Regions from separate parts of the Homo sapiens genome. Here regions 2, 3 and 4 are each linked to region 1. The links are contacts of gene promoters, found by promoter capture Hi-C in human tissues and cell types (Jung and others, 2019). All regions are on one chromosome and are shown on one strand. Each heading gives the region's core, a stretch centred on a gene start or on the middle of the fragment in contact. The rest is flanking DNA. Distances are from core to core; before and after follow the strand shown. Region 1 holds the start of ZNF503 (zinc finger protein 503). Region 2 overlaps LRMDA (leucine rich melanocyte differentiation associated). Region 3 overlaps LRMDA (leucine rich melanocyte differentiation associated). Region 4 overlaps LRMDA (leucine rich melanocyte differentiation associated).

Evidence for each region. Contacts are between HindIII fragments. The study calls those that stand out against the background at their distance.
Region 2: a contact is called between a fragment that was not itself captured here and the fragment with the promoter of ZNF503 in region 1, in 1 of the 25 tissues and cell types used here (H1 embryonic stem cells).
Region 3: a contact is called between a fragment that was not itself captured here and the fragment with the promoter of ZNF503 in region 1, in 1 of the 25 tissues and cell types used here (mesenchymal stem cells).
Region 4: a contact is called between a fragment that was not itself captured here and the fragment with the promoter of ZNF503 in region 1, in 1 of the 25 tissues and cell types used here (mesendoderm cells).

Annotation. Positions count from the first base shown.
Region 1 is chr10:75,398,111-75,406,077 of GRCh38, reverse strand. It overlaps ZNF503 (zinc finger protein 503), which reads left to right and starts at 4,314. Exons shown (of 2, transcript NM_032772.6): 1 at 4,314-4,973; 2 at 5,704-7,967. The coding sequence starts at 4,659. The coding sequence ends at 7,329. ZNF503-AS2 (ZNF503 antisense RNA 2) reads right to left here and starts at 4,550. Exons shown (of 2, transcript NR_024421.1): 1 at 3,817-4,550. It overlaps LOC124902461, which reads right to left. Exons shown (of 1, transcript XM_047426122.1): 1 at 7,821-7,967. RefSeq lists enhancers at 1-609, 197-1,272, 610-1,350, 4,812-5,312. The HindIII fragment of the contact is 17,931 bases long and covers 1-7,967 here.
Region 2 is chr10:76,277,383-76,285,349 of GRCh38, reverse strand. The region is part of intron 5 of LRMDA (leucine rich melanocyte differentiation associated); the gene reads right to left. It overlaps LOC124902462 (a long non-coding RNA gene), which reads left to right. Exons shown (of 3, transcript XR_007062203.1): 3 at 1-7,967. Among named protein-coding and RNA genes, the nearest start is that of KCNMA1-AS1, 610 kb to the left of the region's middle. The HindIII fragment of the contact is 4,657 bases long and covers 1,536-6,192 here.
Region 3 is chr10:76,229,361-76,237,327 of GRCh38, reverse strand. The region is part of intron 5 of LRMDA (leucine rich melanocyte differentiation associated); the gene reads right to left. Among named protein-coding and RNA genes, the nearest start is that of KCNMA1-AS1, 650 kb to the left of the region's middle. RefSeq lists enhancers at 5,232-5,949, 5,950-6,669. The HindIII fragment of the contact is 3,847 bases long and covers 3,189-7,035 here.
Region 4 is chr10:76,097,954-76,105,920 of GRCh38, reverse strand. The region is part of intron 5 of LRMDA (leucine rich melanocyte differentiation associated); the gene reads right to left. Among named protein-coding and RNA genes, the nearest start is that of MIR606, 550 kb to the right of the region's middle. RefSeq lists an enhancer at 2,211-2,910. The HindIII fragment of the contact is 5,744 bases long and covers 1,492-7,235 here.

The sequences.
Region 1 (7,967 bases), core at 3,065-5,564:
CAGTCTCTCTCCCTCTTTTTCCTCTTCACCCCTCCAAACCCACCCAACCCTTAAACAGGCGCAGAGCTTCTCAGAGCCCCTGCTCGGAAAGAGATTATAGAGGACTTTGCCATGAGTTTCTGGGAACTGCACACTCCTGGGGCAACCCGGGAGAAATAACCCGGGCCCTGAGAACATCCTACTCCAGGCAGTGTGGCTGCGCAAGAAAGGTTTATACGGCACACCAAGAAGAGAGAGCCAGAATGGGAAATACTCCCTGGCAAGTAAAAAAAAGGGAAAAGGAAAAGGAAATGAAGGAAAAAGATGGGGGAGCCCAGAAAGACGCGGGAGAGAAAACAAAAAGAAGGGAGGAAGAAAATAAATGAGAGCCGAGGAGAGCGCAGGCCGTGGCGAGACCCCGGGCCGGGCCGCGGCTCCTGCACGCCAGGCTTCTCCCCTGCCCCGAGCAGCGGCGAGGGCCGCGCGGGACTGTCCCCTACTGGCCCCGCGAATCTGGGCCTTGCTCCCAGTCAGGTGGGGCGGACCTGGGTGCAGAGGCCTCCGCGCGCGCTTTCTCTCCCCGCTCCCAGGGACCGCGAGGCGGGGCAGGACAGGGGTGGGGAGGCCCCCGGGGGCGCGCGCCAGTCCGGGACTGTTTGGGTGCTCTGGGCCAGGCTTTCCAGCTCGCCGGGCCTGACCTGTCAGGCGGATTATCTTCGAGGGAGATTAATAGGGGAGGCGGGCTGCAATAATAATCGTTTTGTTTGATGTGACAACTCTGATAGGCGTTGATTTACTTACAAACTGATAGGCTTTTAATTGAGCGCCTCCGCCGAGCCCGAGATGAAAGGGAAGCGGCGGTGAAAGGCGGCCCGCCTGCCCTCCGGCCTCAATACTGATTAGCCATCTCGACAGTGAATAGTTCAAGGCATTTTCAAACTTTTTTCCTCAGCTCTTTCCCCTTCCTTCTCCTCCTCCCACCCCCTCCTCCAATATCTGCCTTGCCCACTCCTTTTTTAGAGAAAACAAATCATTTCCATTGTTTGCAAATAAAATCCGCAGGACATCCACGCCAACTGCTGCTGGGGGTTGGAGGCTTTAGGCCTGGCGCAGAGTAATTAATGGCCCCCACTCCCGGGCCCGCGCCGGCCTTCGGGGGTTTGGCCTCCTGCGCGAGGTGCGCAGGCTCGGACGCTGGCGCCTCCCAAAAGCCCCGGGCGCGCAGGCCCCCAGGCGCCCCCATGCGCTCGGACCCTCGGAGTGGAGTTTTGAGAAAAGCGAACGCACGCTGACCACGACCCGCACCCACGCAGCACAGCGCAGCCCCACGAGCGTGTGTGGCCACACCGGGGGACGCAGGAGCCACTCCACGGCCCCCCCAGGCTTCAGGTGCTGAGGCTGCCTCCCCTGAGCCGCCGGCGTAATAAGCTGCTGGAATTAGAGGAGAGGGGGAAGAGCTGAGTCTGGAGGCTGGGGAGGGACGCCCTTGGCTGCGTCCCCCCCGGCCCTGTCGCAGGCCCCAGAATTTCAGTGCCCGGGCCTCGCGGGGAGGCCGCGGCGATAGCGGCCCAAAGGTGGGCTCGCGGCGTTAGGAGCACTACCATTGGTTGGGTCGACACCTAGACGGCCGCGCACTCAGTAACCAGGCACACATGGACACACCCGAAGGATAAGAGTGCTTCACAGACGCGCTGCCCCGCAGAGACAGCGTAGGACTGTCCCGCCCTCCGAAACGCGCACCTGGGACTTGCTCCCCGGAGACCAGACAACCGCCTCCCTCAGCGTGGGGCCTCGCCACCCGCTCGCCGACTCACCTCCCTCAGATGTCGCACGGACACTACAAACCCCCTTGAATGCAGGTGTGCTCTTACACGCTCACACTGACAAACACCAGCCCCAAGCACACACCGCCTCACTCCCCTCTTCTCTCCAAATGAGCTTCAGTCAAGTTACCATTTCATAAAGTTTACCAACCCAAAGAATCAAGGGATAAAATCCAAACGCAGAAAAAGAATGCCTAGGAGCAAATTCTAAAACTCACCCCGGAAAGTTCTCGGTACCCGTGCGGAGTGGGAGACAGAGAAAGAAGCCGGGGAGGGGAGTCAGGTGGGGGAGGGGAGTGAGATGGGCCAAGAGGAGAGGGCGAGCATACCAAGGGCAGTTCCAGACCCGACCCCCGCGCGCACCCGGCTCAGCCCCAGGTGCGCGCCGGTCGAAACCGGGTCTCCAGGCTCGGCCCCCGCCCCCCACGCGGGCACAGACTGGCTCCCGACTCCCAGAGCTCCCAGCCCCACCATTTATCAAAAGGACTTGACAACAAAAGAAGAGCCGGGGCGGAAAAGCGGAGGAGGGGAGATTCAAAGTCTTCTAAGTCGTTCCGAGGAAGGGGGTGTGTCCTCCTCCCCACCCCCTCTAATTTCTGCGAGTTCCTGGAGGAGACCCTCGAACCCGCTCCGGACGCTATCAGAGCCCCGATAACTCACGCAGCGCCACAGGCATGCATACACACTGGGCATCCAGGTCCAGGTACCCGGTGGCACGCACAGCGCCTCCCCTTTTCTTCCCAAACAACCCGAGTGACGGTGCAAATCGAGGGGAACGCGGCAGTCCCGCTCCGCTTCCCTGGAAGAACCCGCGTTCCCACAGGCAGCCGCCCCCTCCCTCTCTCGCTCCTTCCCTCGGCTCTCCTAGCGCAGCTCATTCCGACTCGGCGTTCCAATAAATTCGAGAGAGCAGCCCCGAGTTACCCTGGCTCCCCAGCCTGCGGGGATGGCGGCAGGTGGGAGAAGGTCGGGGAGGGGGCATGAGTGAGCCTGAGATGTTTCTTCCCCCATACACCCATGGCCAGGCCTCTTCTTCGCAGCCTCTTAGCCCTGCTTACGACCCGAGGGGGTCAAAGAATTGAGGCGAGGTTTGCCCCACCATTGACCTCCAGGACTAGAAGTTCCTTGGTGGTGTGGCTCTTAGAAGTCTCCGAGTTTGGGGTTAGGGAACTACAGAGGGTGGCAGCCTGACCTCCGCACGCAACACGCCCCGCGAGGACTCGCGGCGGCGGGGTGGGGTGGCGGGAAATCTCCCGTGTTAGAAGTTGCCGCCGCTGGTCTCGGGTACCCGGAGCCGCGCCCGAACTCCGCGACCCCAACAGACCGAGGCTCCCAGAGGTGGAAGGGCGTCTCTCCGACACCGAGAGGGCAGGCGCACACTCCAGGCCTGCGCGCCCCTCTCGGCGCCCTGGGCGCACCTGCGCACTTTACTCTCGCTATTCATTTTCCTGACACCGTGCGCCTCTTTCATTCTTTTTCTTAGAGCCCCCACCCCACCCCCATCCCAGGAGGCCGCTCCTCTTTTCCCCTCCTCCAGTTCCCTCTCAATCTCCTCCTTCCTCTCCGTCTCTCTCTCCCTCTCTCTTTTTCCCTTCAAGTCGCACCCGCCTTGTAATCAGCAACAAAAGCTGACATAAATCACGGGAGGATTGACAAGAGCTGACAAATAACTGATTGATTGCGGTCGAGGAACATTGACAATTGATGGAGGGGTGGAGATGCCCAAAGAAGGGGGGGAGGGAGGAAAACAGGGTGGGAGAGTAAGAATGGGGGGTTGGGGGACAGACTGAGGGTGAAACAGAGGAAACATGTGACCCCCGCTGCTGCCCCAATCTACGCGTCCCCGGGCGTCACGTGGCCGGGAAGGGCGGAGAGCCCAGCGCTCCTCGCGGTGTTGAGCCGCCGCCGCTGCGACTGCCCATCTAGCTTCTGGTTTCTCCGCCGCGGAATCTGAGGAAATTAGAGCGGGCGGGCGGGCTTCTTCCAGCTCCGGCTCCCCACCTTGCCTTCTTACCCTGGTGGCTGCGCTGCGCCGCGCGGGATCTCGATTACTGCGAAGGAAAAAACACTGGGTGTGCAGGTTCCCTTCGCCCCTGGAGTTGACAGTCCGGCCGGTGTCCACACTCCCACCGGTGCTCCTTCTGGACACCCCCCGCAGTCTGTTCCTCACGCGCACCCCCCTTCAAAAGAAGGTTTCAGTTTATTTTCGAGCTGGGGAAAGGAAGAACGACGAGGAGGAAAAAAGAGGGAGGCGGCGGATGGCAAACGTAGAATAAATGTCCATCTCGTCCTCCCAGCGAAATCGAGGGAGGGGACACACAGGGGGGCGGCGAAGAGGGAGCTGCCCATTAAAACCGGCACTGAGAGTCCTGGCAGCGGCGGCGGCGGCGGCGCGGGACGCGTCACATCCCCTTGACCCTCCAATCACCTCGGGCTCCCATTTGATTGGAAGGCGGCAAAGGCTTTAATCTCCCCCTTGGTGCAGCTGCTTTTGAAGTGAGTTTCCTCGCCAGAGCCCCGGCTGGACACGCAGCGGCTCGCATCGCAGAGCGCAGCGCCGGCGCGGGGCCGCGAGAACGCAGCGCAGGGGAGCAGCCCGAGGCGGACACCGCGAGCCGCCCGGCACTCCCGCAGTCCAGCCGGCTCCTCTAGCCCGGCCACGGCTCCGCTGCGGGCCACCCAGGATTACTCGCGTCTGGCTCCAGGCGCCGAGAAGGCGCGCTGGGCGCCCGTGGCCGCCGCGCCAGCTCCTCCTCCTCCCGCTGCTCCTGCTCCCGGGGCGAGCGCGCAGCCCCGAGCCCGCCCCGCGCCTCCCGGAGCCCTCCCCCCCGCTGCTCCCATGCGCGCGGGTGGGTCATGAGCACAGCGCCCTCGCTTTCTGCCCTAAGAAGCAGTAAGCACAGCGGCGGCGGCGGCGGCGGAGGCGGAGGCGGCGGTGCAGACCCTGCCTGGACCAGCGCGCTCTCTGGAAATAGCTCCGGCCCCGGCCCAGGCTCGTCCCCGGCCGGCAGCACCAAGCCTTTTGTGCACGCCGTGCCCCCCTCTGACCCCCTGCGCCAGGCCAACCGCCTGCCAATCAAGGTGCTGAAGATGCTGACGGCACGAACTGGCCACATTTTGCACCCCGAGTACCTGCAGCCCCTGCCTTCCACGCCGGTCAGCCCCATCGAGGTAAGGACCCTCTCTCTGGATCGCACTGGGACCACTACCCTGGCTGCCACCCTAGGGCTTTCTTTTTCTCGGGATCTGGGCGGAGGTGGGGGGGTCGGAGTGATTCAGCTCCCGAATGGGGGAAGAGGCTACTGCTTCCGTACCTCAAAACTAGGGCGGAAAAGGGGGAGGAAGTGGAATGGGGCGTGCATGCTAGGGAGCAAGGCTGCCAATACTTGTTTCTCCTTTCGATATGAAAGCCCCTACCCCGACCCAGGCCCCTTCACTCGGCACCGAAGGCAGGCGGAGGTCTGAAATACGGTTCCAAAGTCGCCGTCCTTCGTATCCGCAGAAGCCAGTGTGTGCACACAGCCTCTGAGGCGCCAGCCGCCCGAGCCCTTACTCTGAAGAATTAAGGAGTGTTTGTGGGGAGGGGGTACAGTTCTGGGTCTAGGAACCGAAAACCAAAACATTTTGCTCTTTAAAAATCTAGTTAGCGCTCAGAGAGGGCAGGAAAGATGCTGCTGGGGGTGGTGGTTGGGCGGGGGGAGCAATCTGCTGCCTTTCCCAACGGCGAGAATGTTTGTGAGTGGGTGTTGAAGAGGGGGTGCCGCCTAGAATTGCGCCTTGGGGCTGGGAGGATCTTCGTGGGCTGTTGCGGAGAGGCATTTGAACCCCAGAAGCCAGGATTCTAAAGGGTTTCCACTTCTTTCTCTGTGTGACGCTCCCCCCCCATCGTCTGACCCCGCAGCTCGATGCCAAGAAGAGCCCGCTGGCGCTGTTGGCGCAAACATGTTCGCAGATCGGGAAGCCCGACCCCTCGCCCTCCTCCAAACTCTCCTCGGTTGCCTCCAACGGGGGCGGCGCGGGCGGTGCCGGCGGCGGTGCTGCGGGCGACAAGGACACCAAATCGGGCCCCCTGAAGCTGAGCGACATCGGCGTGGAGGACAAGTCGAGTTTCAAGCCGTACTCCAAACCCGGCTCGGATAAGAAGGAGCCGGGAGGCGGCGGTGGAGGCGGTGGCGGTGGCGGGGGCGGCGGCGGGGGTGTTTCGTCGGAGAAGTCGGGATTCCGGGTACCGAGCGCCACCTGCCAGCCATTCACGCCCAGGACAGGCAGCCCGAGCTCCAGCGCCTCGGCCTGCTCGCCGGGAGGTATGCTGTCCTCGGCCGGGGGTGCCCCGGAGGGCAAGGACGACAAGAAAGACACCGACGTGGGCGGCGGTGGCAAGGGCACCGGGGGCGCCTCGGCCGAAGGGGGACCCACGGGGCTGGCACACGGCCGGATTAGCTGCGGCGGCGGGATTAATGTGGATGTGAACCAGCATCCGGATGGGGGCCCGGGAGGCAAGGCTCTGGGCTCGGACTGCGGCGGTTCATCGGGCTCCAGCTCCGGCTCCGGCCCCAGCGCGCCCACCTCCTCCTCAGTGTTGGGCTCTGGGCTGGTGGCTCCCGTGTCACCCTACAAGCCGGGCCAGACAGTGTTCCCTCTGCCTCCCGCGGGTATGACCTACCCAGGCAGCCTGGCCGGGGCCTACGCCGGCTACCCGCCCCAGTTCCTGCCACACGGCGTGGCACTTGACCCCACCAAGCCGGGCAGCCTGGTGGGGGCGCAGCTGGCGGCGGCCGCGGCCGGGTCTCTGGGCTGCAGTAAGCCGGCCGGCTCCAGCCCTTTGGCCGGAGCGTCTCCGCCGTCCGTGATGACAGCCAGTTTGTGCCGGGACCCTTACTGCCTCAGCTACCACTGCGCTAGCCACCTGGCAGGGGCGGCGGCCGCCAGCGCTTCTTGCGCACATGATCCGGCTGCTGCGGCTGCGGCGCTGAAGTCCGGATACCCGCTGGTGTACCCCACGCACCCGCTGCACGGTGTGCACTCCTCGCTAACGGCCGCCGCGGCTGCTGGCGCCACACCGCCCTCCCTGGCCGGCCACCCCCTCTACCCCTACGGCTTTATGCTCCCTAACGACCCACTCCCCCACATCTGCAACTGGGTGTCGGCCAACGGGCCGTGCGACAAGCGCTTCGCCACGTCCGAAGAGCTGCTGAGCCACTTGCGGACCCATACGGCATTTCCCGGGACAGACAAACTGCTGTCGGGCTACCCCAGCTCGTCGTCTCTGGCCAGCGCTGCCGCGGCCGCCATGGCTTGCCACATGCACATCCCCACCTCGGGCGCACCGGGCAGCCCTGGGACGCTGGCGCTGCGCAGCCCCCACCACGCGCTGGGACTCAGCAGCCGCTACCACCCCTACTCCAAGAGCCCGCTTCCCACGCCTGGCGCCCCCGTGCCGGTGCCCGCCGCCACCGGACCGTACTACTCCCCCTACGCCCTCTACGGACAGAGACTGACCACCGCCTCGGCGCTGGGGTATCAGTGAGGGCGGCCGGGAGGGCGAGCGAGGGAGAGGAGGGAGAGGGGGAGGGGAGGAGTCCAGGGAGAGGCGGGATCACGGCCCAGGCTGCTGACACCCGCGCGTGGGGAGGACTCGGGCCACGAAAGGAAAGAAATGTATACCGTATCTATCTACCCGACAGCAGCGACCGAGACCCGGTGGGACACTCCCCTTCTCCCCACTTTCACCTCCCCACCCAAACTTTATAAAAGTTGAAAAAATATCATTTGACTTTTTATAGAAAAAAAAAGGAAAAAATAATTGAGAAAGTGTTCATCTGAGGACTGCATCGGTGGACACTGGTATTTATTTATGTTAGCTCCAAGCGGACCGGTGGTTCAAAAGTGCATTATTTAGTTTGAGCTCTGTAGGTAAAAAGGAGGTGGGAAAAATTTTAAAACTTGAGGGTAAAAATGTGGAAAACAAACCCTCCCATCCCTTGTAGATTATAAATAAAAGCAAAACCGCCACAGAACTAGAGGTCTTCTCTTTAATGTTACTTTAAAATTGCTATGATTGTATTGTACGTTATTTAATGTCTGATTGAAACACAAATTTACATGCATGTTTGTTACAAAAAAAATGAAAAAAAAAGTCACAATTTGTCAGCTCTGATTTCAAAT
Region 2 (7,967 bases), core at 2,615-5,114, 880 kb before region 1:
TCCCTCCACTGAGATATCCAAGTTTGCAGACAACTGTAAGTAGAGTGCCTGACTACTCCCTTTGTGACTTCATAAAGAGCAAGCTATGACATTTGCTGGTTGAGTTGTGGAAAAAACTGAATTCCAGACAGATTGGCCAACTATATCCTGGAAATAGGATGAAGTAATCTCCTTGACTCATTTAACAAATATTTAATGAGTGCCTACTGCATACCATATACCATACTAGGCATCAGAGATTCATGAGTGAATGAAACAGACATGATCACTTCCCTTATGGCTACAAAAGAGGGGAGAATGGGGAAACATGGAAATCAAAAAGCATCCCTGTATTATCTATTCTCATACTGCTAACAAAGACATACTTGAGACTGGGTAATTTATAAAGAAAAAGAGGTTTGATGGACTCACATTTCCACATGGATGGGGAGGCCTCACAATCATGGTGGAAGGTGAAGGAGGAGCAAAGGCATGTCTTACATGGTGGCAGGCAAGAAAGCATGTGCAGGGGAACTGCCCTTTATAAAACCAGCAGATCTCATGAGAGTTATTCACTATCATGAGAACAATATGGGAAAAATCCACCCTCAAGATTCAATTACCTCCCGCTGGGTCCCTACCACAACACCTGGGGATTATGGGAGCCACAATTCAAGATGAGATTTGGGTGGGACACAGTCAAACCATATCAGTCCCTATCTTAAACAAATAATACAAAAAAAACCCAAGATTTCAAAATCAGGGTTAAACTCTCTGTCAAGCTGGTTGGAATTTGCAAGACAGAATCAGTTTCCCAGTGCTGCTGTAACAAGTTCACATGAACTTAGCAGCTTCAAACAACACAAGTTCATTGTCTTAGAGTTCTGGAGGTCAGATGTCTGAAAAAGGCCCTATAGAGGCAAAATTGAGGTGAGGGGAGAACACGTTTCCTTGCCTTTCCCAGCTCCTAGTGGCTGCCTGTGTTCCCTGTCTTGCACCCCTGGCTCCATTTTCAAAAGCACATTGCTCCAATCTCTGCTTGCTTCATCACATCTCCTTCTCCCCTGACTCTGACTTCCCTGAGTCCTCTTCGGAACCGTTGTGCTTACCTCAGGCCCACCTGGATAATGCAGAATAACCTCCACAATTTATGATTTTTTAATCACACCTGCAAAGTCCCTTTTGCCATATAAGGTAATCCCAGTTTCTAAGAATTAGGACATGGACATATTCGGATGATTGTTATTCAGCCTATCACAAAGACCAAAAATAACATCCCAAACTTTAGGTACTTTCGTGGAAAAAGAAATGACCTGAGCTCTTGAAGATGTGACCAGGATGCAGAACAGTGGAATTGCCTCCCTAATTACATTCATATTCTCTGTCTAACAGCAGTAAAACAAGAAAGGTGTGGTGGTGGTGCATGCCTGTAGTCCCAACTGTTTGGGAGGCTGAGGCTGGCAGATCACTTGAACCAAGGAGTTCAAGATCAGCCTGGGCAATAGAGTGAGACCTCCTCTCCATTTAAAAAGAAAAAGAAAAGCAGTGAAACACAGTGGCAAAGAACACAGGCTGTGGGGTGAAATACACCAGGGTATTGGTTGAACCAGCTCAACCAAACACCTGGATGAACATGATCAAATTACTTAACCTCTCTGAACCTCAATTTCCTGTTCCCCAAATGGAGATCACAATAATACTCCCTTTCTGGGGTTGTTATGAGGATTAATGAGATAATACCTATATAGCACTCTTTGTTGTATATAGTAAGCATTCAATCGATGTTATTATTATGTTATTATTATAATTATTCAATCACTGGCCACCCAGCCTGGACTTGAACTCACACCTGAGTATTTTAGAGGCCTCCTTCAGTACAGATCACTGAAATTTCCAGAACTTCCTCTTCCCCTTACTTGAAATCCGATCTGTCCCTCAAGCACTTGTCTCATTCATGCTCCTTCATGCTTCCCCAGTGGGAAGAACTCTATCTCCCTTTCCTTCTGACCTCCAACAACAGGTGCACCACTCGTGTAAGGCTATCACTGATCTTGCTGCTTCCAATCTTATTTTTATGTTTTAGCACCATATGTAGATTACAAACTGCCTGAGGGCAAATACTGCTGTACTAGTACTCAGTGAAGACATGTGGCCACAGTAGATAATCAATAAACTGGTTAAATAAACTCATTGCAGAGTTTATTCCTCCCAGATCTGTGGGGAAACACAATTTCACATTTCCCATTAAAGGGGAGCTAACTGTACACCCTAAGATATGCTGCAACCTTGAAGTTGAGGTTCTAAAGTGAATTTAGTCCTCATCTCCCTTTTCCATTATGTGCTCCACAGTTCCCTATATCCCAGGATGATGAAGACCCCTCTTTCTCCCTCTGTATACCAAGAAGTTTAAGTATCAGCAACACACCAAGGGAAAATAGCAAACAGACTTCTGTTTGGACATGAAATTGAACAAAGAGCTCACACCAGTCAGAGCCAGTTTGAACCAGTCTGCACGGCTCTGAAATCTGCCGGACCTCCCTCTGAAGCTGGCACAAAGACACGAAGAACATCATTGACTTCAATCTTTGGCCTTCTAACCAGGAAAGGACTTGTGAAGGTGAATGGTTTGCAGACGAAGGGGATATAAAAGAGACAAAACCAGGATAAAAATTAAATAAAAAGTAGCTGTCTTAAACTGTAATTGCAGTCCTCTGCTGAGCACGCTTGCAGATATATAAATGTGATTTACCATCAGCTTGCAACTACAAATCAGGTCTTGAGAAACACTTGTGCTATGAAATTGTTTAATCTCATCAAGCTCTGCTTTCACAGCAAGCCATAAATCACAAAGTCTTTGTTATCATAGACCTCCACCAGCGCCTCTCTGGCAGGCTATGGATCGTGGGTATATATAATCTTGACTGCACAAACACTGGGGTCGACGCAGGCTGAAATACTTTCATAATAGCCACTGTGCAGCTGGTGGAACACAAGCCTATGATGGATATCTCATTTCCTACAGTCGGCATCTATTTCGAGCAAATTATTACCACATAAATTTCTTGTCAACAGAAACGGCCAATTAATTAAGTTAAAAATTTACTTGTGATCACATCTACAAACCAAATAGAACTGCAAGGCAATTTTCCAGTTACTGAATATACTGCAGGTCAGTTTAATGAATAATTTTTAACTTTGTCATAAACTCAAAGACAGGCTAATATCTCCAGAAACCTGAATGGAGACCAGCTGCCGACAGATTTACACAAAATATATTTATGTGGAATTTGATTGCTGACATCTGGGGACAGAAATAAACTTTCTATAATTACAGAGGCATCTTTGCCATATATATGCATTTCTTTCACCAAAAAATGCAAATCTGTCCCCAGAAAGGGTGTATTTACATTTTCAGGCAGGGCTACAATGGGGCTGGATGGTTCTTGGAAAAATCATTGCATTAAATTCCTGTGCTAGTGATGGGTTCATTATCATGCAGGAAGACAATAACAGGCCAAGACCTGTTTATCACTGCCCCCCACCTTCCTACACACAAAAAATCAGGATGCTTTCTCTCTTTGAGGTTGCAAGCCACTTGGCACATGTCCAATAGTGGAGGCAGCATTGGGAGGATTTAGGGGTCTGTCAGGTAAGGCAGATTGACACAGCTTCCCCTTAGGGTTATTATGCATATAAAATAGATCTACATGGAAATAAGGCCGGCAGAGGGCCCTTTTCATAATTCCTGCTTTAACCATGTCTCTTTGAACTGAAGAAAATTCATGGATGATGGGGGGGTTGGGGGAATGGTAGTTGTCCAGGTGAGTATAAAGGATGTGGATTTGGGGAACACATCAGATCTGACTGCTAACAGTGATTTACTCAATGAGCCACCTATTGGATATAGAATTAGGGTTTTCAATAGGGCCGTTATGTACCCCAGAAGTAGAGGGCACTCAAGGTCCTCCAAATTATAGTCCCAGTCTATCTTTAACAATTTCACTGTTCCCTATTCTCAACCTGTCACTGCCAAATGACCAAGCTAGACTACTTAATGTTCCTACCACGTGCCTTGGCTTTTGTACTTCTGTAACTTTGCTCCAACAAAGGACCTTTGAGGTCTGTTCCCATATACTTCCACTTTCCAGATTTTTATCTCCAAGATGACCTCCTTGGCTTTTCCTCAGCCTAGAAAAGACCTTTGCTCTTCAGCAAGACACTTCCTTCTACACAAAAATTGAGAGCCTGTCATTCTACCACGAGCAGAATGAGCAGTTTGAGTTCACAGCCACTGAAGTGTTCAAGAAGATGCCAGACAACCATTTGGTGGGCTGTTGTAACGGGGACTCAATGTGTGTGGAGAGTTGGACTAAATAACTGCTAAAGCTTTTCATCCCTGGGATTATAATTTTTTAATCCTTAGCCTGTATATCAATAAGGCCACAAGCAATTCTACAATGGTTGCTTGTGCCCTTGTTGGTAAACTTCCTGAAGGCAGGGATCATTTTACTCATATTTACAGTTTTCTCAGCACACAGTCCAGTACCTTTTTTTTTAAGGCACATTCCCTAGAAAAGTTATTGAGGGCTGATTTTACGGAGGTTTTCTCATATTTGCAGCACTCAACTTCAGGTGGCATTTGATACACTACTGTACCATGATAATCAATATGAACAGTGCTGATGTGTGCTTATGATGTTTAGGGCACCTTGCTAGAATTCTGAGAATTCCAGGAGGCAAATACATTCTCTCCCAGACTAATTTTAATTAAGGAAAAAAGTCACACAGTGAGCTCAAAGCATACCCCAAACAAACAGGGGCTGAATAAATGAATGATCAATGTGCAAAATACAAAATAAGATAGAATATAAATGTTAAATCAAGGGTATCAATAATTTTCAGTATCAGGGTAGACAATGCAAAAACGTTTGTGTTTTAGAATCTGAAGGGTGCAAAAAAGTGATTCCATATAATTCTTCACTCTGCTACTGTGGATACAAAATCCCCTACCCCAAGCTGAACCAGCTTGCTCAAGGTCACTAAAATGGAAGATGGCAAAAAGAGAATCATACCTAGCTGTGCTCAATACCTGCCCTTCATTCTTTCCATCACATCCACCAAACCCAACAAGGTTACTCCTATAAAGTCTAAGGATTAAATTGCTTTTCAGTTTTTCCTGGTTAATTTCATGTTCCTTGAATCAAAGTATAAATACCTCTTCTCTGGCTCAGGCCTTGGCTCTACGTGTCCCTGGATTATTTCTGATGACAAAATACATTTCAAAATTTTCTCCTTGACAATGATCTTAAATGTGAAGACATTGCCTAAACATCTAATTTCACCAGTCATCTACTCTGGATCCTTTCTGCCACACACACTCACTCACAAATAGGCATTAAATGCAGAGGTTGATTGGATTCAAATCTTAGCTCAACCCTTTATGAGTTATGGGAATTTAGGCTGGTTACTTCACTTCTCAGTGCCTCAGTCTCCTTGTCTATAAAATGGGACTACCTCATAGTGTCATGAGTATTACATTAGACAACACATGTAACATTTTAAAACAATGCCTATAAGAAGCATTTATTCTGAGATCAGGAGTTCAAGACCAGACTGGCCAACATGGTGAAACCCTGTCTCTACTAAAAATACAAAAAATTAGCTGGGTATGGTGGTGGGCACCTGTAATCCCAGCTACTCAGGAGGCTGAGGCAGGAGAATCGCTTGAACCCGGGAGGCAGCGGTTGCAGTGAGCCAAGATCGTGCCATTGCACTCCAGCCTGGGCAACAAGAGCGAAACTCCATCTCAAAAAAAAAAAAAAAAAAAAAAAGAAGCATTTGTTATTAGTTTTTAATCCTTAGCCCGTCTATACCACTTTTGGCATAGTAAATCTCATATTCTTATCCCATGCTGTGTAAACTTTATTTCTTTTCATTTGTCCTGTACTTGCCTTGTGAAGCTTCAAGGAAGAATTCATAAAAGAATAATGATGATGATGATGATAACAGATAACATTTTTGCCTGTATTATGTTCCAGGCACTGCTATAAACACTTTACATTCGTTATCAACAGCCTTAGGAGGCAAATATTCTTATTATCTCCAAATCACAGATGTGACCTAGAAAGGTTAAGTAACTTGTCCAAGGTCATACAGCTATAATTGGTCAAACTCTAAGTTCATGCTCTTAATCACTGCAATTTAGTGTTACTGTATTTGGTCAGCAATTCCTTATCATTTTATTTCTCTCATTTATAATATTATAGGTATTGCTCATGTCCTCCATCATACTCCATTTTTCCAGAACAGTCTGAGTCAGTCATTATTCCTATCCCCAAGGACCTTGCAGTTCAGACAAGGAAACAAAATAAATGTGGATATGAAAAGCATATCCACATAAGAAAAACAAACTTGTTCTAACCCATCCAACTCCATCATGCTTGTTTATTTCATTCTTCCTTGAAGCTTCTCTCTACCCAGCAACAATAGTTTTTGAGAGTGTATCTAATCATAGCACCAAATCACTATTTAAAGATGTTGGGCAAAGTAAAAGAATCTTTCAATAAAGTTCAATTAGCTTGTGAGTTCAAATATGAAACACACACTACTGTATTTCAGGAGGAAGGGAGAGGCCAGAGGAGGTTCCATAGCAGAGCTTTTGTGAAATTAGAGTCAGGATTTCTATAAAAGAAAATGTTTTATTACAGAGACAATGAACAAGAAACATGGGGAATTACCTATATGCTGTCTGAGTGCTACTAACAAAGGCAGGTAATAGTGTGGGTGAGACACCGCTGACTGTCAGGTTATCTTGTTGAGGGTCACTGCTGCCAGAGTGTCAAGGTCGGGATAAGACAGTATAACAAAGCAGAAGCGAGGAACGCCTGCCTCCCTGGCTGATCCACTGACGATTAGCAGCATAGGGGACATGAGTGATGATAATATCACAGTTTTACATGCGTTGAGCACTTTATAGTTTATAAAGCACTTTCACAGTCATTATCTCATTATATTTTTAAAGAATTTCTTACGGAAGATTCAGTAATGACCAAACCTGCCGAGGAACACTTCACTTTTCAGGGATACATTTTCCTGATTTGAGAAAAGCTATCTACTTTGAGTTGGGTAAACACATGAGCACAGATTTAGAAACTGGAATTCAATGAAGGAGCCAGAAGACTCTAGGGTTAACTGGAGGTATAGTACAGCTCATCCCAGACAGTGCCAGAAATTATACAGGGAATCTGCAAAATCCGAAAAATTCTCATTAATGCATCCAAATCTAGAAAGAAGCAAACTTTATCTAGGCATTCTTCTCTTCTCCTTCTTCTGACTGAGTAATGGATTAAGTAACCACTGGGAAAAGCAAATGAAACACAGAAAACTAACAACTGGGTACACCCTCTAATGGGCATGAAAATTCCATGATGACCCAGTGAATTAGAGAAATCATCCAAAGCCCAAAAGTAAACCCTAATGAAGGTTTAACAGAATGTCAGATGAGAGAATTAAGTCTGGCTATTCCAATAAAGATCACATCCCTTCTCAGTTGAACTATTCTCCTCCCTACCCCATTTTCTGAAGCTACAGAACATGGACAAAACATGAAATACTTACTTCTCAAACTGCAACTTTGAGGGTAAAAGAAGCTCATATTATGAGAGGTGGGAAGATAATTAAGAAGCCATTCACACTGTATATTTCAGAGTTACTCAAACATGATCAGAGAGAAAACAAACAGCACAGCAAAAAATTCAGACTAACAACAAAACCAGGAAAAGGAGGACAGAAGCACATCATGCAAAAGACACAAAAAGGACCCAACAACTAAAGGAACAGCAGAAAAAAAAATCCAAATAGCTTTATGCTATAAAACAACTTAGTAAGAACAAGACTTTAATAAAAGAGGGGCTCAGCTGAATGCAGTTTAATTGAATGTGAGCCTGCCTCTTGCATGAGAGGGTAAGCCCACTACCTCCTATCTCTTC
Region 3 (7,967 bases), core at 3,863-6,362, 830 kb before region 1:
GGTGGGAAAAATTATTTTTATGTATAATTATCTACACATGTATTTTTGTATAATATCTGACATATATAAAAATATAGTTTTATTTTCAGTAATGTTTATGGGGAACTTAACATTTTCTTTCTTTCTGTTTTTGCTATTTTTTAAGAGACAGGGTCTCCCTCTGTTGCCCAGGCTCGAATGCAGTAGTGCAGTCATAGCTCACTGCAATCTCCAACTCCAAGACTCAAGCAATCCTCTGGCCTCAGCCCCATTTTCTTTTATTATAAATGTAGGCAACAAAATGACTGGAGTTTAAGGAGTATCTGTGACTTTATCATTGATAAAAAATCAGGTATTTTCATGTCACATTATTGCAGAAATCCAAAACACTGTTTATGCTTATCAACACTTTGAAATTATAGTAGATGTTAGCATAGCTTTGAAATTATAGTTGCTGCTGGCTGTAAGCACATAAATTACTAAGTCATAAATTTTATTTTTAAATATTTTGATAACAGTATTTCAATATACTACATTTGCTTTGTAACCCTTTGTACTTTATTTTGTGCACTTAGAAAACATTAATCAGAGAAGAAGTCTAAGGGCTTGTGACCATAATAGGTTTGCTGCCTGATGTTCATGGCAAGTCAATACACCAAGATGCTGGGTTGCAGCAGAAAAAGAAGTTTGGTCATAGGCCACTAAACGAGGAGACAGAAGGAAACCTCAAATCCATCTCCCCAAGGAGTTTGGGGCTAGGGTTTTTAAAGGTCTGGGAGCGGGCCAAAGTGTGGAGACCATTGATTGGTTAAAGAGTGCAGAGTAAGTCATGGGACAGGGAGATGAAGAAACCATTCTCATGCTGATTCAGTTCCTCTGTTGGGGTCTTCAAAATGGTTAGCATTAGCTGTTCCACTGGAATTCAGAATCTGCATCTGCAATTCTCAAACATAAACCTTATGATTGTAGTGTCAGAGATCCTATCTATCTTAAAAGCCTGATGTAACTCCAGAAATCCTGTCTATAGGAACAATGGGGATGCAAATAGTCAGGATCTGGTGTTACCTGACTTTCAGTTACAAGGAACTGGGTCAAAGTGCAGCCTGCTTAATTAATGCTTAATTATAACTACATTTCTGTCCAGAATTCTTGTTAACCCTGTGAGGATGGCATCAGGCTTTCCTAGAGATCTAGCTAGACTGTCTGGGTTCTAACCTGCCTCTGCCCCTCCCTTGCTATGTGACCTTGAACAATATATTTGGCCTGAGGCTAAGTTCACTCGTTTTAGAAAATGGATCATCCCATCGACTTCTTTGGGATGGTTATTGGAGGTCATTTTTTGGGCTCGCCAAACAGAATGTACCACCCCAAACTATATTTCTTTGGCATATTTCGAGCTGGTTACTCTGAGGAACTGCACACACGGAAGTAGCTCTGAAAACTTGTCCTTTTGTAAAAGAAACTTACATCTGTAAAGGAAATCTACATTAGTAAACTATCTGGATCAGAAAAAGTCTGCTAGCTGCAGAAAACTGTTATGACCTGAGAGTCTTTTAATCTGTATAAGAAGACAACCCTTATTCGTCATACAGTTTCTAACCCCATCTTCCCAAAACTCATGTCCCTGCCAGCCCCCAGAAATTCCAAGCTTCTACTCCTGTAACTCAATAGTCATGAATTCCCTCCCGTAGAATCTTATCAGCCAGGGACAATTATCTATATCACAAGAGAGGAGAATAGAGGTGACACCACACCCAGAAAGACCCTGTCGCAGGCTGTCACCTATTCTGAGGGCCCATTCATCTTTCCCAGAAATCCTCTGCAGGTATACCTCATTCCACTGCACTTCACAGATACTATTTTTTCTACAAACTGAAGGATTTGTGGCAACCCTGCATCTAGTAAGTCTACCAACACCATTTTTCCCACAGCATGTGCTTATCTTACGTCTCTGGGTTACATTTTGGTAATTTGGGTAACATTTCAAACTTTTTCATTATTATTATATCTGTTATGGTGATCTGTGATCAGTGATCTTTGATTTCATTATCCTAATTGTTTTGGGGTACCATGAATCATGCTCATAGAAGATGGCAAGCTTAATAAGTGTTGTGTGTGTTCTGACTGCTCCACCAACTGACTGTTTCCCCATCTCTCTCTCTCTCCCCAGGCTTCCCTATTCCCTGAGACACAACGATATTGAAATTAGGCCAATTTATAACTCTACAATGGCTTCTAAGTGTTCAGGTGAAAGAAAGAGGCACACTTAAATCAAAAGCTAGAAATGATTAAGCTTAGTGAGGAAGGCATTTCAAAAGCCAAGATAGGCTGAAAGCTAGGCCTCTTATACCAAACGATTAGCCAAACAGTGAATGCAAAGGAAAAGTTCTTGAAGGAGATTAAAAGTGCTACTCCAGTGAGCACATGAATGATAAGAAAGTGAAACAGCCTTATTGCTGATATGGAGAAAGTTTTAGCGGTATGGATAGAAGATCAAACCAACCATGACATTTCCTTAAGCCAAAGCCTAATCCAGAGCAAGGCCTTAACTCTCCTCATTTATGTAAAGGCTGAGAGGTAAAGAAGCTACAGAAGAAAAGTTTGAAGCTAAGAGAGGTTGGTTCATAAGGTTTAAGGAAAGACGCTGTCTTCATAAAAGGGCAAGGTGAAGCAACAAGTGCTGATGGAAAAATTGCAGCAAATTATCCAGGAGATCCAGCTAAGATTTGATGAAGGTGACTACACTAAACAACAGATTTCCAATGTAGACAAAACAGCCTTACATGGGAAGAAGATGCCATTTGGGGCTTTTATAGCTAGAGAGAAGTCAATGCCTGGCTTCAAAGCTTCAAAGGACAGGCTGACTCTCTTGATAAGAGCTAATGTATCTGGCGACTTTAAGTTGAAGCCAATGTTCATTTATCATTCCAAAAATTCTAGGGCCCTTAAGAATTACGCTAAATCTACTCTGCCTGTGTGCTATCAATGAAACAACAAAGCCTGGATGACAGCACATCCGTTCACAGCATGATTTACTTAAATATTAATTTAAGCCCACTATTGAGACCTACTGCTCAGAAAAAAAAGATTTCTTTCAAAATATTACTGCTCATTGACAATATACCTGGTCACCCAAGAGCTCTGATGAAGATATACAAGGAGATCAATGCTGTTTTAATGCCTCCTCACACAACAGCCATTCTGTAGCCCATGTATCAAGGAGTAATTTCAAGTTTCAAGTCCTCTTATTTAAGAAATATATTTAGTAAGGCTATCGCTGCCATAGATAGTGATTCCTCTGATGGATCTGGGCAATAGAAATTGAAAATCTTCTGGAAAGGATTCACCATTCTAGATGTTACTAAGAACATTTGTGATTCATGGGAGGAGGTCAAAGTATCAACATTAACAGGAGTTTGAAAGAAGTGAATTCCAACCCTCACGGATGATTTTGAGGGGCTCAAGACTTCAGTAGAGGAAATAACAGCAGATGTGGTAGAAATAGCAAGAGAACCAGAATTAGAAGAGAAGCCTGAAGATAGGACTGAATTGCTGCAACTTCATGATAAAGCTTTTAAAGATGAGGAGTTGCTCCTTATAGATGAGCAAAGAAAGTGTTTTTTGTTTGTTTGTTTGTTTGTTTTGAGATGGAATCTACTCCTGGTGAAGATGCTGTGAACATTCTTGAAATGACCACAAAGGATTTAGAATATTACTAAACTTAGATGATAAAGCATAGGCAGGGTTTGAGAGGATTTACTCTAATTTTAAAAGAAGTTCTAATGTGAGTAAAATGCTATCACACAGCATCACATGCTACAGAGAAATCTTTCGTGAGTCAATCAATGTGGCAAACCTCATTGTTGTCTTCTTTTAAGAAATTGTCACAGCCATCCCAACCTTCAGCAACAACCTCCCTGATCAGTCAGCAGCCAGCAACTCTGAAACAATACCCTTCACCAGCAAAAAGATGGTAACTAACTGAAAATGCAGATAGTTATTAGCATTTTTAACAATAAAGTATTTTAAAATTAAGGTATGTATATTGTTTATTTAGACATAATGTTATCATACACCTCACAGACTACAGTATTGTATAGCTTTTATACACACTGGGAAAACCAAACATTCATGTTACTTGCTTTATTGCAATTTTTGTTTTATTGGGGCAGTCTTGATAGTGAAAGGAGGCAGCCAAATGCCTAGGCAGACAGTGGGGGTCCCCGGTGAAATCCCACCTCCAAGCTGATTACAGTTTGAAGCCTGAAAGCCAAGCTACAAGTTAAATTCTTGGACCAGACTGAGAACTTGTCTTCCCATTTGGCGCACTTTTCTCTGACTGTCCCCACCTTTCACCTATTTTACATATACCTACCCTTTCGTAATTGGTTTTCTTCACTGTCATGCCCACCTTTGAGTGGTGTCTTTGGTTTAAACTTTTTTGCATACCCCCAAACCAATCAGCACACACTCCCCATTCTGAGTCCATAAAAGGCCCCAGGCCCAGACACACAGGGGACTTTCCCACCTTTGGGTAGGGGGACCACCCCTGTGTCCCCTCTCCACTGAAAGCTGTTTCATCACCAATAAAACTCCCCATCTGGCTCACTCTTCCATTGTCAGTACATCCTTATTTTTCTTGGGTGCAAGACAAGAACTCGGGAACCAGTGTGTAAGCCAGACTTAGGCCGTCTCCTACAGCAGGTAGAGGCCATCTCCTGCAGCAGCTAGTGTGGTCGAGCAAGGCCAGGGTAGGGCATCGCTGGCCAGAGGTCTCCAGCTTGCACGGTGACCAAGAAGAAAATCCTGCATCAGTCTAGAATTGAGATTTCAATATCTCCAAGGTATGCTTGTACCTTCCCTAAGTTGTCTGCATTCCCCCTCTCTTCTCCCCTATGAAGAGGGTATAAAAACTTCTAGATCTCACTGGGTGTTCACCTTTGTTTTATATGATGCTCCTATGCATGTAATAAATTTATGTGTCCTTTCTCCTATTAATTGGTCTAATGTCCATTTATTCCATAGATTCAATTATCAAACTCTCAGAGGGCAGAGGGAAAATTTTCACTCCCTTATATCATCAGAAATATAAATAAAAATAGCACAACACTCAGTAAATGATTATGTTATTATTGTTATGTTTGTAATATCTTGGTGTCTGGTTATTTTAAATCATATCACTTAAAGAAACAGTGTTCCCTAAAACCAAGTTTATTATTATTCAGACTCCTTTAAACATGCTATTTGATATTTCTAGGAACAAAGAAGAGATAAATCAATAGAATAGGAATTACTGGAAATCACTGGGTTTCACCTCCATTTACACTGAAGTGTTATAGAAGAAATAGCCAAGAATGTGATTTTTATTTTAAGTCTACCCTGATCTCCCTAAAATTCTCTTTAGAATTCTCTTTGCTCTGGGATTGTATATGTTTTCCCCTCACTTAATTTCCCTCCTGTGGTTTGTATATAGAAACTGATAAGAAAGCACTAATCTCAAACTAACTGTGTGTGAGATTTTGTGGATATGCCCTTAATGTAAATAATCCAACCTCTCTCCTACAAACTGTTTCTGTCACAAGGCTATTTGTGATAATAACTACCACAGTCACTCAGAGACTTTTTTTCATCATTAGAGGGGTGATATCTCCACTAGCAAAGATGGTTTTTATTACTTTGCATAAACTTCTGTAGCTTAAAAGGAGCAGTAGTAAAGTTAGTTCAAGGCCCTTTATGACTTCTTTTGTTCTGCAAAGTTGGGGAGGAAAAACATCGATGAGGTATGAAAAGGCTGTTTGTTTACAGTCAGCACCAAGATCCTTGCCTTTTTCATAAAAGGAAAGGAAACCAGCAGGAGAATCACAATACCCAGCACCTCCTTGGGTCTCTCTGCATTCTCCACACTTGTGTATTAAGCAGCCAGGCAGCTGTTGAACAAGTACTATCAACAAAGCAATCTTCTAGCCCTTTGATTCAGGCTATTCATATCTTCTGCCCTGAAATAAAATGACTTTCACAATTAAAACACCGAAATCAATGCAGTATCTATTGTCATGTCTGCTGGAGAAAAGCTTTAATTACAGCCATAGTTAGATAACACAATCATTACACCTCCTTAATCTCAAATATAAAAACCAGCACCCTCTGAGTACTTTGCCACCCTTTCTTTGATTTTTTTTTCTTTTTCTTTTTTCTTTCTTTCTCTTTCCCCCACAACATGAATGGCTTTTTATCTAAGCACTTCAATTTGCATGCCTTTGCTCGGAGGCAGCTCCCCATGATATGTTAATTGCAGATTGCTTTAAGTACTAAAAGATTAACATAAAACCCTTTGCAAACAAGCTAATAGTTTATGATAATTTTTGCATGGCCTTTGTCTGTCTATCACTGGATTGCCTCTAGCTGTAATTTTATAAAGAAGCTGTAAAATATCATTTAAACAAGTTCATTTACACATAATTATTACCAGAATCACATTATTCAATTTAGATACTCCAGCCTATTAACAATCCATGAACTAAAATGTAATTAAACTATTTTCCTTTTATGAACCTATTCATTACAATGTATGGGAGATGGATCTCTCAGTTTCACTGCAAATTTCAGCACTTTGTTGTTGAAATTGACAAGTCTGGCACTCATTATGTGCTTTTAATTATATTAAAAGTATTGCAAGACAGCTCAGATAAAGAATATGTTTAGAAAAGAATGCCTGGAAATGCCAAGATGGTGTCATCCCCAAATATATATTTATTTTATTCATGCATGGGATTTTTGGGGTTTTTTTTTTTTTTGCCCTCTTAACAGTGAAAAATAAAATCATGCTAGTTGTTTTAATTGATATTTTCATAGTTTCTCTTAGTAAGTTTTCTAATTTAAGCCAAGGATAAATATCTCATCTAATTAATAGTGTTTACTCATTTTTCCAGATTTCTATCTACTTTTTTTTGAAACTACAGTCAGAATAATATCCAAAAAAGTATATTCTCCCAGCATTTACATACAGATACACAATTATTTCAGATATGAAGGATGCTGTATTTGTAATTTGATTTAAAACTACTGACTCGCTTAATTCTGGATACAAACTTGAATATGTGTGGAAGCAACTGAATTAATAAGAAACATTTAATCTGTTTTGAAAGGGACAAGTTTCCCTCTCTGCTTTCTGCTTGGTGTTGCTTGATTTCAGAGTTAACTCAACTTTTAGTTAGGGTGTTACAGTAGGTAGGCAGTCAGACATCAGCAGGGCAGGAGAGACCCACCCCTACCCCACCAGGAATGTCAGGCAACCATCAGGTGATGGTCAGGCAGTTATTACACTGCCTCGCTAAAATAATAATTGGTCCCAGGGGGCTCCAGGGAAAGGCAGCCTACCAATAGATAGAAATACCTGAAACTGGTTATCAGCAGCTTCCTGAAAAGATCTCAGGAGTTGGGTGAATGGGCTTAAGAAAGTGAACTAAGGGGCAAAATGGTGAAGTCGAAAATGGCTCAAAGGAGCATGCGTACAACTTCAGTAAACACACCCAGGTTGGGTGCTCCTGGAGCAGCTATAAAAAAGGATGCCACCAACTCCCAAGCCCAGACTGGATCCTCCCCAACCTCCCACCCGCAAAGACACGGGCTCGGAAGAGATACCTCAAAGTGTGGGGGTGTTGATATGCTGAGTATTTTGAACTAAAGAAGCAGTCTCAGAACCAGAGTCTGACCTTCTTCTGCCCACCCTCTCTCACCCCTCTACCTCTTGCCAAGCACAGAGGGCGGCTTTTTCTGAAGTTCCCTCATCTGACTAAGGGAAGTTCCTCTAGAAGGAATGCAATTGTCTTGCATCACCTCTCTATAATCTCATCAAACAGGGAAGATTAACTTGCAGAAATGAAGACTAGAGTACACAGCACACTCAGAGCCCAGACAGACTTCGTCCCAGGACATCATCTGTTCTTGATGCCCATTCTTCTCTCCTAAACATCATTTACTTTTTCCTC
Region 4 (7,967 bases), core at 3,114-5,613, 700 kb before region 1:
ACAAAAATTAGCCGGGCATGGTGGCATGCGCCTGTAGTCCCAGCTACTCAGGAGGCTGAGACAGGAGAATTGCTTGAACTGGGGAGGCAGAGGTTGCAGTGAGCCAAGATCATGCCGCTGCACTCCAGCCTGGGCAACAGAGCAAGACTATCTCAAAAAAACAAAACAAAACAGCACAAATTTATTCCTTCCCAGTTCCGGAGGCCAGGTTTCTGAAATCAAGAAGTCTGCAGGGCCACACTCCCTCCAAAGGCTCTAGGGGAGAATCCATCCTTGCCGCTTCCAGTTGCTGGTGGCTTCAGGCATGTCTTGGCTTGGGGCTACATAACTCCAGTCTCTGCCTGTCTTCTCCTGGCCTTCTCCCCTGTGTCTCTGTGTCTGTTTCCCTGTCTCTTCTATTAAAAGAACTTTTCCTAGAATCGAGGGCTTACACTAATATAGGAAGATTTCATTTTGGACTTCTTAACTTAATTACATGTGTAAAGACTCTTCCCCCCCACCCCCCAAATAAGCCCACATTCACAGGTTCCAGGGGACCATATCTTCTGGGGTGGAAGGCACTCTTCAACCTATCACAGGCACTTATTGTGAAGATGGCATTGCTCTGGGAGTCTGGAATATACCCATGGAAAAAAACGGTAACGAAATCCTGCCTTTTGGAGTTTAAATTCTAGCAGGTAGAGACAGATGATAAATATTAAGCATAATATTTATGTCAATAAATATATAAGTCAAATGCAGTTTCTTAAAACGTGGTAAGTGTTCTGGAAAAAAGAAACACAGACCAAGATGAAGGAGGCCCTTGGCTGCCAAGGTGATATTGGTGGAGGGCAGTTTCCATTATTAAATACAGTGGTTTGGGTGAGGCTCATAGAAAAGGTAAGATTTCAGCAAAACCTAGAAAAGGTAATTAGCCAAGTGGATATCTGAGAGAAGACACTTGCAGGCAGAGAGAATGGCTAGAGCAAAGGCCTGGAGCAGGAGCTTGCTTTGTACATTCTAGAAACAGCAATGGAGCCAGTATGGTTGGGACAGATTGAGAAAGGGGAGTGCAGGAGAAAGGCAGCAGGGACATGAGACAGGGCAAGGCCTCCCAGTGAGATGGCAGCCAGAGGGGGGTTCCATATGGGGGGTGAGCCACAAACACGGCCCTTCGTCTTCTCATCCATCCACTCATCTATTCAAAAATTCAGCCCATTGTCATGACCCTGGCAAGAAAGAGAAGGCATATTCACCTGGGATTTTAAAAGAACAAATTCTTTACAGGGGTGTGGGCAAGATCAAAGGAACCCCGGGGACACTGAAGCACCAGAGCTACCCAGAGCAGATAGCCGTGGCCAAGACACACGGTGAGACCCAGAGCTGCAGGGAGACCCAGAGCTGCAGGGAGACCTAGAGCTGCAGGGAGACCCAGAGCTGCAGGGAGGGCAGCCTGGCATGAAAGGCTATAGTCCTGGATGGACACAGCCAGAACCACAAAGTTGCAGGTGGCAATGGGAGGGGAAGTAGCCCTACCTCTCCCTCATTGTCCAAACCCAACCAGAAGCCAGAGGGCAATGGAGCCTGGTGGTTGAAGGCATTATCACCCCAGGACACAGAGCAAGGGAAAGAAGAGTAAAACATAGGTCTGGGATGACAAATAGGGAGTAGGCCACACACCCAAGCATAGTGCCGTCCCTGGAGAGTCTGCAGAGGGTAGAAGAGCCATGGTCCTTCCCTGCTTGGGCCTTGCATTCTAGTGGTAGACAGACATTCAACAAACACACACAAACAAACACAACACACACAAACACACACAAAAGCTGGCAGATCCTGGAAGAAATTCCATCCATACTTGGAAGAAGGGAATGGTGTGGAATTTTTTTTTTTTTTTTAGATAGAGTCTCATTCTGTCACCCAGGCTGGAGTGCAGTGGCATGATCTCCATTCACTGCAACCTCCACCTCCCAGGTTCAAGCAATTCTCTGCCTCAGCCTCCCAAGTAGCTGGGATTCCAGGCGCCCACCACCACACCTGGCTAACTTTTGTATTTTTAGTAGAGGCAGGGTTTCATCATCTTGGCCAGGCTGGTCTTGAACTCCTGACCTCGTGATCCACCCGCCTCAGCCTCCCAAAGTGCTGGGATTACAGGCGTGAGCCACTATGTCTGGCCGGAATTTTTAACCTAAGGGCAGATACCAGTCTGCATCTTGCTGAGGCAGCCCAAACTCTGATAGAAAACACACAGTCATCCTGGCTTGAATAATTAAATAATCATGAGAGAGATATAAACTATCCATTACAATCTGGGAAAAAGGCTTGAATTTATGAATACATTACCTACCACAACTAAAAGGGGTGAAAATGTGTTCATCAACCTCAGGAAGTGTATGAGTAAGTCAGGCTCCATCATGCTGCCCTTGTTCAAAACCTGAGCACAGAACCCCCTGCTGGAAATGCCTTGGCAGCTCTGTGTGCTGCATCTACTGTGAGAGAACAGAGGCCCCCGGGATCAGAAGAGCAGTCAAGGGCAGTGAGTCATCCACTCTGCATGATGAGGAAACTCTCCCACTGGCAACTGGAAGCACTTCTTGTCATGCAAAACTCATGACTTTTCAAGAGGGCTCTTATTGTTAAAAACAACCTCTTTATCCTCAACTGCATTTTGCCATGTTGTATCTTCCATCCAAGAAGGTTATGAAATTGCTAGGAAAGTCTTAAAGGAGACCCAAAAAAATCATCCTCTTTAGAGAAGCTACAAAGGTTCCTACATGAAACTAGTAGAAAGATGACTTCCTTGCCTGTCTTACTTCAATAATGAAAAGTTAGGGCCCTCTGGGAAGACAAACTCAAAGAGCAATATGACAAAAATTATAGTCAAAGGAGATAGTAGGTTCCTTAAAACATTAAACGTAGAATTACCACATGACCCGGCAATTCCACTCCCAGGTATATACCCTAAAGAATGGAAAACAGGTACTCAAGCAGGACATGTTCAGGCCAGTGGCTCACATCTAATCCCAGCAATCTGGGAGGCCAAGGCGGGAGGACTGCTTGAACCCAAGAGTTAAAGGCCAGCCTGGGCAACAGAGGACCCTATCTCTACAAAAAATTTTTAAAAAATAGATAGGCATGGTGGTGCACACCTATAGTCCCAGCTACACAGGAGGCTGAGGTGGGAGAATAGCTTGAGCCCAGGTGTTTGAGGCTGCAGTGAACCATGATTGCGCCACTGCAGTACAGCTTGGGTGACAGAGTGAGACCCTGTCTCAAAACAAACAAACAAAAAAACAAAAGACATGGAACTGACCTAAATGGAAAAAGCAAATATGGTACATTTATACCATAGCATACTATGCAGCCATTAAAACAAATGAGATTATGTCCTTTGCAGCAACATGGATGGAGCTGGAGGCCATTATGCTAAGCAAACTAATGCACGAACAGAAAGCCAAATACTGCAGGTTCTCACTTATAAATGCGAGCTAAACAATGAGAATTCGCAAACACTAAGAGGGGAACAACAATGGGGCCTACTTAATGGTAGAGGGTGGGAAGAGGAAGAGGATCAGAAAAAATACCCATAGGGTATTGTGCTTATTACCTGGGTAACAATCTGTACACCAAACCCCACAACAACGCGGTTTACCTATGTAAAAAACCTGCACATCTAAAATAAAAGTTAAAAAAACAGATGCAATAAAAATATGTTCATAGTGGCACTATTCACAATAGTGAAAAGATGGAAACACCCAAACGTCCATCAAAGGATGAATGGATAAACAAAATGTGATATAGCCATACAAAGGAGTATTATTCAGTCATGAAAAGGAATGAAATACTGATACATGCTATGATGTGGATAATCTTGAAAACATTATGCTAAGTGAAAGAAGTCATTTACAAAAAGTCACATATTGTAAGACTCTATAAGAAATATATAAACTTCATAATCATATTTATAATATTTATAAGAAATAGATAAATCCATGGAGACAAAATGCAGATTGTTATTCCCCAAGGGCTGGAAGAGTGGGAAATGGGAGAAACTGCTTTGTGGGTTACGAGCTTGACTTTGGAACAATGGAAATGTTTAGAACTAGATAGAAAGGGCAGTCACACAACCCTGCGAATGTACTAAATGTCACTGAATTGTTCACTTCTAAATGTTCAATATGAATTTCATCTTAATACATTTTTTTTTTGAGACAGAGTCTCAATCTCGTTGCCCAGGCTGGAGTACAGCGGTGTGATCTAGGCTCACTGCAACCTCTGCCTCCCGGGTTCAAGTGATTCTCCTGCTTCAGCCTCCCAAGTAGCTGGGATTACATGTGTGTGGCACCACGCCTGGCTAATTCTGTGTTTTTAATAGAGACAGAGCTTCCCCATGTTGGTCAGGCTGTTCTCAAACTCCTGGCCTCAACTGATCCGCCTGCCTTGGCCTCCCAAAGTGTTGGGATTACAGGCATGAGCCACTGTGCCTGGCAATAAAATTTTTTAAAAGGAAAAGGGGATAATAAGGGTGAATACATGAATAGTCAGCAAATTCTGCCATACTAGAACTTTTGGTTCAAAAGATGTAAATTTAGAACTAACAACAAAAAGCCAGCCTTACTACCAGGTAACAAACCCAAGGACCTAATAAGACCAAGATGTGGCATAGAATGAAAATATAAATCAGTTCATAAAGGTACAGACTAGCACTTCTTAAACAATCAGTAGTTTTTGTTTATATTAAATTTCCTATCCTTCATAAATAGATACTTTTGTAATAAAATGAATTATTAGGACTTCTGGCTTCCTCTTTGAATATAAAAAGCTGGAGAGAATATCACTCATGCAATAAAAAAAAAGAGCTGGATAATTTGTAAAATTATTACTTTTCTTGATCCCAGCAGGGAACTGAACCAGTGGGAGGAAGATGGGGCCTCTGATGCCTGGATGTGAAGAATTCAGCTAAAATTTTCAATAGATTGCTGAAGGCCAACTATGTACTAGCATGAGAAAATAGAATCCCTGGAACTGCAGACACAGAGGGGTTCACAGCCACTCTTTTCCAAGGACCTCTCTATGTGCTCACAGAGAAAGAGTGGGGGCAGGACTAGGGTACAGGGAAAGCTACCCTCAATTCTACAGGAGGGAGCAGATGCTACTAATGGAAAGGCAGAGAGCTCTTCAAAATTACTTGTCCCTTAAAAGAACAAAAGCTTTAAATTGCTGGGAAAGAGGTAGCATACACTGTCATGCTGGGGGCATACTGTATCTGAGGAAAATGTTAAAGAATGAAAGACTTCAACCCCTGCAGAAGAACAGTAAGTGATCCTAGACCTGGACTATCAGAGGTCTCCTACAGCTGAGGCAGGACTCATCAATGAGCAAGACCCACCCATAAAGCAAAAGCCATTGATTGATGTTGGAGGCAGATAAGGGAGAGGGTCCCTGGAATCTCCGACCTGCCTGCACACTGGGAGAAAGGGCTGAAGCCACGGGAAGCTTGTGTCATGTGGAGGTGGGGAGGAGCCTGGCCTCTTCCGTTCCTGTGTATGGCCTGAAATCAATCTGTGAGATGGGGGCCTGTTAGCAGGAACCCCTCTTGCTTTCTGAGAGTTTTTTTTCTTTTTTCCTTTTTGCCCAATAGATTCCACATTCCCTTTACCCTTCAATATGTCTGTGTGCCTAACTTTTCCTGATCATGTGACAAGAACCTGGTTTTAGCTGAACTAAGGAGCAAAGTTCTGCAACACCATTACCAGAAATAAAGAAGAATATTACATAATGATGAAGAGGTCATTTATCAGGAACACATAACAATCCTAAATGTGTATGTACTTAACAACAGATCTTCAAAATACATAAAGCAAAAAATGATAAAACTGAAAGAAAAAAGGGAAAAATCTATGATTACAGTTGGAGACTTCATCACTCCTCTCTCACTAATCAATAAAGTAGACACTGATATAGAAGACCTGAACAACACTATCAACCAACCTGACCTAATTAACATTATGAAGCCTCATATGAAACAACAGTAAAAATACATATTATTTTCAAATACAAACAAAACAGTCACTAAAACAGACAGTATTCTGGGCAATAAAACAAACCTCAATAAATTTAACAGAATTTAAATAATACAAAGTGTGTTATCTAACAACACAAAATTATTATTATTACTATTGGTTTATTTATTATTTATTTCCTTTTTAACCACACAAAATTAAACTAGTAATGAATACAAAAAAGATATCTGGAATATTGCCAAGTATATGAAATTAACAAATTAAAGTCTAAAGAACACAGGTAAAAGGAAGTCATAAGGCAATGTGGAAAATATATTTTAATTGAATAAAACAAAATACATGGGATGCAGCTAAAGCAGGGCTCAGAGGGAAATTTATAGCACTAAAATGCTTACACTAGTAAAGAATATCAAGAATCTAGGTTTCTACCTTAAGAAAGTAGAAAAATAAAAGCAAATTAAATGCAAAGCCAAAAGAACAAATAAATTAAGACAGACAAAGCAGAGATGAATAAAATAAAAAAGAAAATTAAAAAAATTAATGAAACTGCCATTGCAAAATTATAGCTGAGATAGTGAAAGAGATCTGACCTAATCAACTCCTTCTTGCTTCTAACCTCCAGGCTGTCCTTGTTCATTCCTGGGCATAGGTCAAATTAACTTTGGGAGGAACTTAGTTTATATTAATAGTTTAACTTCAAAACAAAGACAATAACAGACCTTTCTTGAAACAAACCTCCTTCTTGCCTGGGGACTAGATGGCCTTTGTAGGTAGGACTAACATATTAGCTACAAGATTAGAAATTATGGTTTAGGAGTCATGTAGCTGGAAGGCACAAGATTCTGACCCTCCCAAAATTGCTCCTCAGGATAACATCACTATCGTAAAACCTAAGATCAATGCTTGAGATATTTTGCAGACCCTGCACTTGATGAATCAGCTAGCACCATCCAGATTGATAAACTGGCTCATCTGGTAGCCCTCACCCAGGAACTGACTCAATGCAAGAGGACAGCTTCACCTCCCTATTATTTCATCTCCAACCTGACCAATCAGCACTCCTGACTCACTGGGTTCTACCCACCAAATTGTCCTTAAACACTCTGATTCCTAAATGCTTGGAGAGACTGATTGGAGTAATAATAAAACTCCAGTCTCCCACACAGCTGGCTCTGGGTGAATAACTCTTTCTGTATTGCAATTGCCCATCTTGATAAATTGGCTCTGTCTAGGCAACAGGTAAGGTGAACCTGCTGGGCGGTTACATTAGTAGTACCAAAATCTAGTTCTTTAAAAAAAAGTCAATACAACTGATAGACTTCTAGTCAGATTTAATATGAAAAAAAAGAAGAAAGTACAAGTTGTCAATATCAGCAATGAAAGATGGGACGCTAATACAGATATTTAAGATATTAAAATGATAATGAAAGAATATTACAAACTTTAGGACCCTAAATTGTATTTAAATGGCATTGTCAAATCCCTTTGAAGACACCAATTACCAAATCTCATCCTAAAAGGAAATAGATAATCTGAATAGCCCTCTGCCAATTAAAGAAATTGTATTTGTAGTTAAAAATCTTCTGACAACTTTGACAACAAAAGTGATAAAAAACTACATGTCTAATGAATGTATCTATATTCATTAGATATATTTGCTAGTGAATTCTACCAAACATATAAGTAGAGAATAATACAAATTCTACACAAATGCTTCTAGAAAATAGGAGGGAACACTTTTAAATTCATTGTATAACGTATTACACACTGACACCAAAATCAGATAAAATATCACAAGAAAACTATAGACCAATATTAATTACAAACATAGATGAAGAAAATATGGCTAGAAAGGGGAAATAAGTTTTAGTGTTTTAGACCACTGTGGGATGACTATAGTTAACAATAATACATAGTTTTAAATAGCTAGAGAGGATATTGAATTTCCCCAATGCAAAGAAATGATAA